Regions from separate parts of the Homo sapiens genome. Here region 2 is linked to region 1. The links are contacts of gene promoters, found by promoter capture Hi-C in blood cells and fetal thymus (Javierre and others, 2016). All regions are on one chromosome and are shown on one strand. Each heading gives the region's core, a stretch centred on a gene start or on the middle of the fragment in contact. The rest is flanking DNA. Distances are from core to core; before and after follow the strand shown. Region 1 holds the start of PPFIA2 (PPFI scaffold protein A2). Region 2 has its middle 33 kb from the start of CCDC59.

What was found. Contacts are between HindIII fragments. The CHiCAGO score rates a contact against its expected background, and 5 or more counts as called.
Region 2: a contact is called between a fragment that was not itself captured here and the fragment with the promoter of PPFIA2 in region 1, in 1 of 17 cell types (M1 macrophages). The highest score is 5.9, in M1 macrophages.

The regions. Positions count from the first base shown.
Region 1 is chr12:81,757,635-81,763,040 of GRCh38, reverse strand. It overlaps PPFIA2 (PPFI scaffold protein A2), which reads left to right and starts at 3,691. Exons shown (of 33, transcript NM_003625.5): 1 at 3,691-3,761; 2 at 4,534-4,641. RefSeq lists an enhancer at 3,893-4,831. The HindIII fragment of the contact is 5,625 bases long and covers 1-4,131 here.
Region 2 is chr12:82,322,955-82,328,603 of GRCh38, reverse strand. No RefSeq gene overlaps it. Among named protein-coding and RNA genes, the nearest start is that of CCDC59, 33 kb to the left of the region's middle. The HindIII fragment of the contact is 1,538 bases long and covers 765-2,302 here.

The sequences.
Region 1 (5,406 bases), core at 2,442-4,941:
AAGCAAATGGGCGTTGGGGGTGGCTTCTGAGGAAAATCAACATTATCTTGCCTGGCAGCTGCCTCAGGGTAGGCCATCACTGTTGCCTCAGGCAGTGCAGCTTCCATCTCCTCAGACAAAGATGGAAAGGCTGACTGCATCATGGGTCAGGGAGTGGATGTTGCCACTACTGGGGATGGAGAAGCTGTTTTTCTGGCAAAAAAGATTCATCAGAGTTCACAAACTCAGTGTCCCCTGCTTTATCAGGGTCCCTCCAGAGATCCCCATTCCAAGTTGAGCGGTCCTATTCTTTTCCAGTCAATAACATCACTTTAACAGTAGACACCTGGCAAGACACCTGGCACCTTTACTTACAGGAAATCCTGTGTATATACGTATATATACATATATACACATCCTATTACTTCTGTCCCGCTAGAGAACCCTGATTAATACAGATTTTGGTACCAAGAGTGGTTTTAGAGGAACAAAATATTAAGAATGGAGTTATTTTATTGGTTTTGGAGCTTCTAGAGTTGGCTGCTTAATATGATTAGACCCCAAAATGCTAAGGACTCTACTTATAATAGTATGGAGAACACTGATAGTCTTGGTGTGAACATATATACATATATATACGTATATATACATATATACGTATATATATGTACATATACACATCCTATTACTTCTGTCCCACTAGAGACATACACACACACACACACATATATATATATACTTCTGTCCTGCTAGAGACATATATATATATATATATATATATATATATATATACACACACATATATATATATGAGTTTATTAAGTATTAATTCACATGATCACAAGGTCCCACAATAGACTGTCTGCACACTGAGGAGTAAGGTGAGCCAGTCCAAGAACTGAAGAATTTGGCGTCCAATGTTCGAGGGCAGGAAGCATCCAGTGCAAGAGAAAATGTAGGCTGGAAGGCTAGGCCAGTCTAGTCTTTTCACATTTTTCTGCCTGCTTTATATTCTAGCTACGCTATCAACTGATTAGGTGGTGCCTATCCAGATTAAGGGTGGGTCTTACTGTCCCAGCCCACTGACTTTAATGTTAATCTCCTTTGACTACACCCTCACAGACACACCCAGCATCAATACTTTGCATCCTTCAATCCAATCAAGTTGACCCTTAGTATTAACCATCACAGGAGTGTATAGACAAAAAAACTCATAATTAAAATAAAATGTTAAGAAGAAGCATTAGTACATGTGGCTACTATAATATTATATTCTGGTGTGGACTACTTTGATTGATATTAGGCACTAAGACTAATAATGGCTTTCACTACTTCTACTTAAATCTGGTTGACTATTCAGGAGACAAGCATATCTCATCTTAATAATTCATTGGGCATCAAAAACAGTAGAGTCAGATTTATATTAGTATGGGGGATGTTTTTTCTTTGAATAAAAAATATTTCCCTGTTCTTTTTTTTTTTTTTTTTTTTTGCTCTGTGCTTCTTTTGTTCCCAAATTTCTCCAGATGTATCTACACAGTGTTTCTCAGAGTGGGATCCCTGACCTAGCAATATTAGTACCACCTGGGAACTTAATAGGCACGTAATGAATCAGATGTAATGAATCAGAAACTCGAAGGATAGGGCCCAGCAATCTGTGTTGTAACAAGCCCTTCTGGAGTGTCTCTTGTATGCTAAATTTAAGGGCCTAAACTAGAGAAACTGGTGCAGGTGGTAACTCTTCTCATGTGAATCGGCTCACCTAATGCCTCATGCAAAATTGCTACTTTAAACAGTCTTTCTCAGTTTTAATATATTATTTACACTCTTTGCAGTGAAGTTAGCAGTGATAATGTCAAGTTTTTCAGCTGAAATTTACTATGAAGACTGTATCTTCTTAACAAAATATCCTTTAACTCGTGATATTTTTTTCTGCCTCCCATTATCAAAGTTTTTCTTTCTGCGATACCTACCATGGGTTAGCCTTTAACTATGCTGTGTCAACTGTATGTGGGGATTATACTTACAATTAAAACTTGTATTTGACATACGAATGGGACTCAAGGAAATCAAAACTCTTCTTGGAAACAGTAGGAACATCTGAGCCAGTAATTAACAAACGTTGATTGCCAAGGAAATTCAAACCAAGGTTTAATAAGGAAGGAATTCTTGTAAAAATAGACATAATAGCTATATGTAAAAATAAGAATATCTCTCATGTATAAGGAATTTTTATGTTTTGTGTAGAATTCTAGAGAGTGAAAGTTATGAGTACTGATATATGATTAGTATGTTGAAGCTATTACAATATGAAGTTTGTCTGAAAATAGACTAGGCTATCCTGTGAGGTGAAGAGTTTCCTGTAGTTAGGGGTATTTAAGCCACATCAAATTGTGGGTCGATTGGGTGGTCTAGACCCTTCCTCCTCAAGTGTAGTACCATCTGGGAGTCATTAGAAGGGTAGAATTTCAGGTTTCACCCCATTCCTGGTGAATCAGTATCTACAACTTAACAAGATCCATGGATGATCTGTATGCACATTATGTCTGAGAAATAGTGCTCCAGTTGACATCTAATGAATTTTCGTATTATTTTTATACTTCTTATAGGATTGTGTTGTGTTGTAAAATTTAAATAACAGTCTAGAATAGAAGTTGGGTAAATACATGAGCTTTACCCCACTTTCCATTGTAAAGTCGCTAACTGAATTAAATACTTCCCTCAGAAACAAAGATTGTTTCTTGGATATTGTAGTTAATTTTAAGTGAACAGTTATTTACATACTAGTTCTTTGTTAACTTTGGACTCTTGGCGTTACACAAAAGTAAAACACGTCTTTTGGCTTTCGTGTAGCACACTCAGAATATTTTCAGTAACCCCCAAAATATATTCAGTGTTTAATCCTCCAATTCCTTCATGCATGTCCTCTTCATTTTCACCAAACCCAGCAGGATTCGTGACTCTCCCTCACAGAAACGTTCCCTTTCTGCTCAGAGTAGGTACTGATTTTGTCTCCTGCTTCCTCAGTCTGTATGAATGGACAGCAGCAACGGAAAGAAAAGAGGGTAGGTAAAGGGAGGTGGAGATATAAGGGGGACTGGAGCGCGATGGAGAGACCAGACTCTGCTCAAAGCTAAAATTTACTCGGGCAGGGAATACTTAACATACAATTCCCATTACCAAAACAATATGAATGAAGAAGAACTGAAGAGGTAATGAGAAATGACAGATGCCGCCACACCCTAGATTGGCTCAGGTCCCTACAACCATGACTACCATGCCCTGGCCCAGTGGGAAGAAAGCTGCTTAAAGAAATGACAAGCACAGAAGACCGGGGAGCCAAAAGGTGCCCAAGTCCGTTCCCATCCCCACCAGCGCAGGCTGACACAAGCGAAGGCTGTAGAGCCCATTGTGTGAAAGAAGCCCAGGCGGGGAAGCGTGTGCCCCCTTCCCACTTTGCCCATCCCTGGCCCTCGCCTTCGCAGGGGGCACTGGGAGCAGAGCGAGCCTCGGCAGCCCGGGAGCGGCTCTGGGGGAGACGAGTGTATCCGCGGGCGCGTGTGCGTGAGGAGGAGAGCAAAGACGTGATTACTTCAGAATTTATTTAAGGGCCGGTGGAAACCACTGCAGCAGCTTCCAGGGGAAGCCCTTGTTCCAGAGGAAGAGGAGGTGGTGGCTGCCAAGGAGGAGGAGGGGAGGAGACGGAGGAGGAGGAGTAGCAGCCACCGCACGAGGCAAGTGAGGAGAGAAGATGCTGTAGCGTCCTCACCGGCTGCCAGCAGGTTGGTTCTTCCGGCCAATTGAAGCAAGCAAAGAGGCTTGCAGAAAGGCCGGGAGGAGAAAAATGGGTGTGTGTGCTGTGGCGGCGGGGGGGCGGCGGGGGGGAGGGAAGGGGGGCCGGGGGACGGCGTGGGGTGATGTTTGCCTTTCCAGAGAAAAAGCGCCTCCTTTAAGTGAAACGAGACACGGGAGCGCGCGGAAACAGGCTGGGGGCCAGGAGGAGACCTGTCCTGCTTTTTGCATCCCTAGGGACTCGTTTTCCTTTAGGTTTCTAACTCCCAGGGTTAGCCTTAAACTCCAGAGGGGCTCCAGGAGGGGAGACTGGGTGGAGAACTTCTCTCCCAGATACTTCTCACGCCTTTTCTCCAAGCTTTCTTTTGGAGGGACGCCCCACACACCCCGGGTGGCCCGGGCGCGGAGGGGGAGCGGCGCCGCGTGGTTAAGTTTCTGAAAGTCAAACCCAGTCCCCGGTCTCCGGTCTCCGCCCCGGGGCTCCAGCTGCACGCGGGGAGCTGCGGCTGTTCTGGCAAAGGGGCCGCGGCTGCTTTAAGAGCCGCCTCCCCCTCTCCTCCTTTGACAATGGTCTGAACCGAGCTTTGCTTCCCAAAGCAAAATTTGTAATATGCCATTTTTCCGATGGACGCTTCTCCTTTTGGCTGCTGACGGAGCCACGGGAAGATGCCGAGCTCCTGCCACGCCACCGGGCCGGGGCACGTTCCGGGAGGGCGCCGGGGCACGCGTGTGTCTGAGCTGCCTTTCTCCTCCCGTTGCTAGGGAAATGGTCCAGGAGTGCTGGGTGTGAGCCTCCCTTCTCCTCAAGCCGGAGACTGCGGTTGTCATTGATCAATTGAAGAAGCAAGGACCCGAAATCACAGACATTAGGTACAGAAGCTGTCTTTGAGTTTTACTGTCTCCTTTCGCTGTATTTTTTGACCACCTCCCCGGCCCCACCCCGCCCCCAGGGAAGATGAGATGCAAATTCCTCCTTGTTGATTACCGTTAGGTGCCTTTTGCTTTCACCTCATCCTCTCCATCTCCTATCTCTCTACCTCCTGCCTACTTGGCTGTGTCCTGTTGGGCAGGATGAACAATTTTAGTGTGGAAATGATGAAGTCAACTTCTTCAAGGTGGTGGGGGGTGTGGCTGAGAGATAACTGTCCAGTAGTGTGGGTTGAGCTGGCTCTGGCTGTCCGTAAATGCACTAGGGTAAAGAAAGTGTAAAATGTGTCCATTAAAGGTGATAATCATATTTCCCGAGGACAGAGGCTTTCAAAGAGTTAAATAGGAGGGAGAATATTCATGTAATGTAATCAGACAATGGCTAGGATTTCTCTCACTGAATTACTCCTTGTAGGTTAACTGAGGTGGAGCTGGGATGGTTCTTAAGACTAAATGTTTTCAGAAGAAACTCACTATGGATAATAATTACATTCTTACCTCTAGTAGGGCCGAATTCCTAGTGATATGATTAAATAAAGTCATTTGTTGACAGAAAAAAGAAAAAAAGCTTTTTGTAGCACTCTCATATCTGAAGAGGTACTGCTTGGATGGCATATATTGTTAAGGAACACATTGGATCTTGAAAGCCCTTGAGTGAGGACTCCAGTGGGCATTCAAACTTTTATTTTGAAATCTGAGAAATTTAAA
Region 2 (5,649 bases), core at 284-2,783, 570 kb before region 1:
TTGTTGTGACTGCTTTTTAAAATTATTTATCATGGTTCATCTTAATGATTCATCATTAGCAATACATATTTCTTTCTGACAAATATGTATATATTATATATTTTATTTAAATAATTATATAATAAAATGTACTAAAATGTATTCAAGTATTTTATATTTGATTACTATTAGAATGTTTCCTATTTTTTGCCATTACAAACAAATTACATTACGTGTCACCAGATGCATGTCCTTTGGTGTTGGTACTTTGTTTTCATTGGCGATATTCACCAAGTGAAATTACTTCAGCAAATGTTGTGTGCCTGTGTGTGTGTGTGTGTCTTTGATTTATTGATATTGCCGAAATATTTTTTAAATGATTGCAGCAACTTGCACTGGATGTTGTTATATTTTGAATTTTTGCCAATTAGCCCAAGGCTTAAGTATCCCGTTAATGACTTGTAATCCTCACTGTGCATTTTACTTTTATTCTCCTTGACTATTAGTGAGGACAAGCAGGATTTTGTATGTTTATTGACTCTTTAGATTTCTTTTGTGAATTTCCTTAGCATAAGTCTTTGCTTATTTTTCTATTGAGTTCCTTTTCTATTTCTCACCAATTTATAGAAGCTTTTTGTGTAGTAGGGAATTTATGCCTTTATCTATCATATCTGTTGCAATATTTGCCCCAATCATTTGCCTTTGATGTTGTTTATGGTGTTTTCCTTTTATGAAAATATGTGTGTAGATAAATATGACTATTTTTCCCTTATCACTGCTAAGCTTCCTGTTTTTTAGAAAGAACTTTCCCATCTAAAGATAGGAAATTCTTCAAAATATTGTTGCAATGATTATATTAATTTAATGTTTATATTTAAATTTTTAAAATTCCGTCTGGAGTTTATTTTGGTTTAGAGTATGAAGTCAATATATATCTTTGTTTTATTTTCGAAATATGACCAAGTATTTAAGTATACATTGATTGATAAACTCCTAATTCCCAACTTGATTCAATTGTCATGCTTGTAACAATTCCTTAAATTCCTAACACACTCTTTTGGATGCTCTACTCTTTACACTGATCTTTTTCTTTCTTTTTTAATTTTTCCTGTGCCTGCTTCTGTTTTTTTTTTTTTTTCAATTTTAATTTTGGTGAGTATATAGGTGTATGTAGTAATGGGGTATATGAGATATTTTGATACAGACATATGATGTGTATCATCCCAGCACTTTGGAGTGTTGAGGTGGAGGGATTGCTTGAGGCTGGGAGTTCCAGGCCTCAGACTATTTTGATTATTGTGATTTTATATTATAGTAATAGCCTTTCAGTATCACTTTTTATGATATAAGCTGTATTTTTTAGGGTTAAAAGAGGATAAGTATATTTTAACTTGAATTTTTATTATAGTTGAAGTCATTATGCAACATATAAAGTGTTTCTGTTTTTCGATGCTAGATTATTATACAAATATGTGAATGACTTTTTAAAGTTAAACTACCCTTATAAGGCCAGCAGAGGGAGTTCAAGGCACTGTTTTACTAGTGAGGAATTACAAATTGTTTAAGAATATATTCTTTTACTGATTAATGGAATAAAGTTAAGAATTCAAAATATTCACTCAAATATCTTGATTGGTCAAAGTTTACACATACATAATCAAAAAGTGCCTATATATTTATAGCCCTCCAAAAGTCAAATCATTTAGGAATGAATCTAAATTTCCTTTTGAAGGAGGGAAATTTTTGGCATATATTTAGTTTATGTACACAGTGCAGATAACATAAAATTGAAATGAGTATAGTAAATGTGATTTCTACTTACCTTTTATGACCAAAGTCAGAAAAAAATCAGAAGACTGTAAAATAGTTAATAAATATATATAAATATATATTCTTTTGTCTTATTTGATCACATGAGCATAGTTTTCAAATGTAAGAATATACATAGAAACAGAAGAAAACCTTGAATGAATAATACCTCTAAATATTTTTAAGTGCTTTTCCCCTTCAAGTGTAGGAAATTAGAAAAGGATGAAAACATGATCAGCTAAAAGGGGATTGACTATTTAGCAGGAACTTTATAAATGAACTAATCTTGGATATGTTATTCCAATGGAAGTTTTGTTTGCAGCCTGCTGCTCTTTGCTATTTATAAATACTAGAATGATGGAGACTGCTAGGAAGCAGAAAATGCTTCACTGAACTTCTCGGTGACAGTAATTCAATCAAGCAAAGGTTACAAAAGCCCTGTGGGCTGCTTGTTATGTGATAGCAGAGGTAGACCTGATTTTGTTGTATCAGATATTATTTAAGTCAGGAAGCTTAGTGTTAAATTTAATGCTCTATCAAAGTAAGTCTATTATTCTGAGTTTGATATATCCATTTCATTTTTGTTCTAGATTTTGTTCTGTTTGTTTTCTATATATATTATCTGCTGTGTGTGTGTGTATGTGTGTATATATACAGGCATACCTCACTTTATTGCCCTTCGCTTTATTGTGCTTCTACTGTGGGTAGAATGCTATCAAACAGCATTGCATGCTACAGGCTACAGAGAAATCTTTTCTGAAGAGAAAAATTGGTTGATGAGGCAAACTTCATTGTTATTGTCTTATTTTGAGAAATTGCCACAGCCATCCCAACCGTTAGCAACCACCACCTTAATTAGCCAGCAGCCATCAACATCGAGGCAAGACTCTCCACTGACAAAAAGATTACGACTTCCTGAAGGCTCAGATGATCACTAGCATTTTTTTAGCAATAAAGTATATTTAAATTAAGGTATATACATTGGGTTTTTTTAGACATAATGCTTTTGCACAGTTAATAGACTACAGTATAGTGTAAACATAATTTTTATATGCACTGGGAAACCAAAAGATTCATGTGACTCACTTTATTACCATATATACTTTATTGTGGTGATCTGGCACTGAACCCACAGTATCTCTGAAATAAGCCTATATAGATTTATTTATATAATATTGTGATGTGTAATTTATTTTATGAAACACAATATATTATAAATAAAATTGAATATTTAAAGGTATAATAATGTGTTGATAAAGGTTTTAAAATTTATTTTAAAACTAAAATTTCTCAACTATATGCTATACATAGTACAGCAATAATTAAATTTTGAAAAAATATTCAGAATGATATATTTAAACTCTTATCATTATTGAATTTTCCATGCTTTCATTTTAAATATTTTACATAAAATGAGCATTTAAGTTTTGAATTTTGCTAGGAAACACAAATATAACAACTTTTAAATTCCTAGTCATACTTCGCAAAAAGTTGTAGTATTCTTGTAAAATACACTCATTTTAAAACAGGCTTAGAAAACAATTGTAAATAATATATTTGATTATCCATCTTTTCTTGGAGATAAGAAATAACAGAGTATTACCCTAAAATGCATTATAAAGCAAAAAGTTATACATATTTTAGTATATAAACTTAAAAATATTTCTATATTTTTAAGTAAAAATAAGCAGTTAAAAGACAAGCTTCAAACTGGGAAAAGACATTTATACAATATATTAAAGACACAGATCACAGAATAAACTTTTCTGATTCACAGGATAAAGTTTCCCAATTCAATATTTTTTAAAAAGCAAGCATTTCCAAGTATAGGTATTTCTTAAAAGAAAAAAATAAAAATGATTTCTAGATACATTCTCACCAGAATAAGCAAATTTGCATAATGAAGTTTTTCATCTATGTTTTTTGCCTTTCAATTTGGCTAATAAAAACAATGATAATGTACAGTATTGAAATTTGGGGAAGCAGTAACTCAGGTGCATTTTCAGGGTGTCTAATTTGATGCAATTTTCCAGACAATTTCTTGACATTTATCAAGAGATTAAAAAATATCCACACACTTTGACCTGATAATTACATTTCTGATAATTTATCCTAAAGATATAATCTTTGTCATTTTACATTGACTCTCCCTTTTTCCTGGAAGCTCTTCCTCAGATAGCTACATGGCTAACTCCCCACTGTCTTCTCATCTATCTTTACTCATATGTCACCTATTCGATAAGGTCTTCCCTAACTAGCCTGTTTAAAATGCAGATCGAATCCTTCCAACTCATACTCCCTTATTCTGCTTTTTTTTCTTTACTCCATAGCACAGTACATCTTCCAACATACTTATAATTTGTGTACTTATCGTGTGTATTGGTTATCATGTCTTCCCTCAGTTGAATTTAGGCTCAACAGGGACTGAAACCCTTGCCTTGCTCCAAGATGTCTCATTTCCCCAATTTTCTGGAAGAGTATCCAGCATGTAGTAGGTGTTTATAATAAATATTTGTTGAATGAGTGAATGTCAAGGATATTAATTTTAACATCATTAATGATAGCAAAATTTTTTTAAAAAGAAAAAATTTATCTTAAAAATTCCTCTGGGAATGGTTAAGTAAATCATGATCTATCCATGTGTATTATTTTCCTAGGGCTGTCATAACAAATTACCACAATCTGGGTGGTTTATGACAACAAAAAATGTATTGTGTCACAGTTCTGTGGGCCAGTGTCTAGAATCGAAGTGTTGATTCCTTCTGGAATCTCTGAAGAAGAATGAGTTCCATGCCCCCTAACTTCTAGTGGCCACTGGAATCTTTGGTGTATCACTGCAATCTATGCCTCAATCTTCATAACACCTTCTCTCTGTCTGTTGCCACTTCTATACTCTCCTAAGGTCACGTACCATTGGATTTAAGGCCCACCCTAATCCAGGATTATCTTATTTTAAGATCCTTAACTTAATCACATTTGCAAAGATTCTTTTTCCCAAATAAGGTCACAGATTCATGTAGACATATTTTGGAGGGCCACCATTCAACCCACTATAATATGTTACATTGTTACAGCACTATTTAAAAATCTTAGTTTGGTTACTGTTTAAAATCTTTAAAAATGTTCATAATGTAATGTTTAATTTAAAAAGTAGGCTGAGCCCAGTGGCTCATGCTTGTAACAGAGAGATTTTGTCTCTGCAAAAGATAAAAAATTAGCTGGGTGTGGTGGTGTGTGCCTGTAGTACTAGCTACTGAGAAGGCTGAGGTGGGAGGGTAACTTGAACCCAGAAGTTTGAGGCTGCAGTGAACTGTGATTGCGCCAATACACTCCAGCCTGGGCTACAGAGCAAGACCCCGTCTCTAAGAAAGAAAAAGAATAAAAGGAGGATACAAAACTTTATTTCTATGTGCATATGTGTGTATGTTTTTGTGTGTGTGTGTGTATATATATGTGTGTATATATATGTGTGTGTGTGTATATATATATGTATATATATATATATATACACACACACATATATATTTTCACACAGAGAAAATAATCCAAATTTTGACTTTTTTTTTCTTTTTTTTTTGAGATAGAGTCTTGCTCTGTCACCCAGGCTGCATTGTAGTGGCATGATCTTGGCCCAATGCAACCTCTGCCTTTTGAGTTCGAGCAATTCCCATGCCTCAGTTTCCCAAGTAGCTGAGATTACAGGTGTGCACCAACACCACCAGCTAATTTTAGTATTTTTAGTAGAGATGGGGTTTCACCATGTTGGCCAGGCTGGTTTTGAACTCCTGACCTCAGTTGATTCCCCCACCTTGGCCTCCCAAAGTGCTGGGATTCCAGGCATGAGCCACAGCGCCTGGCCAA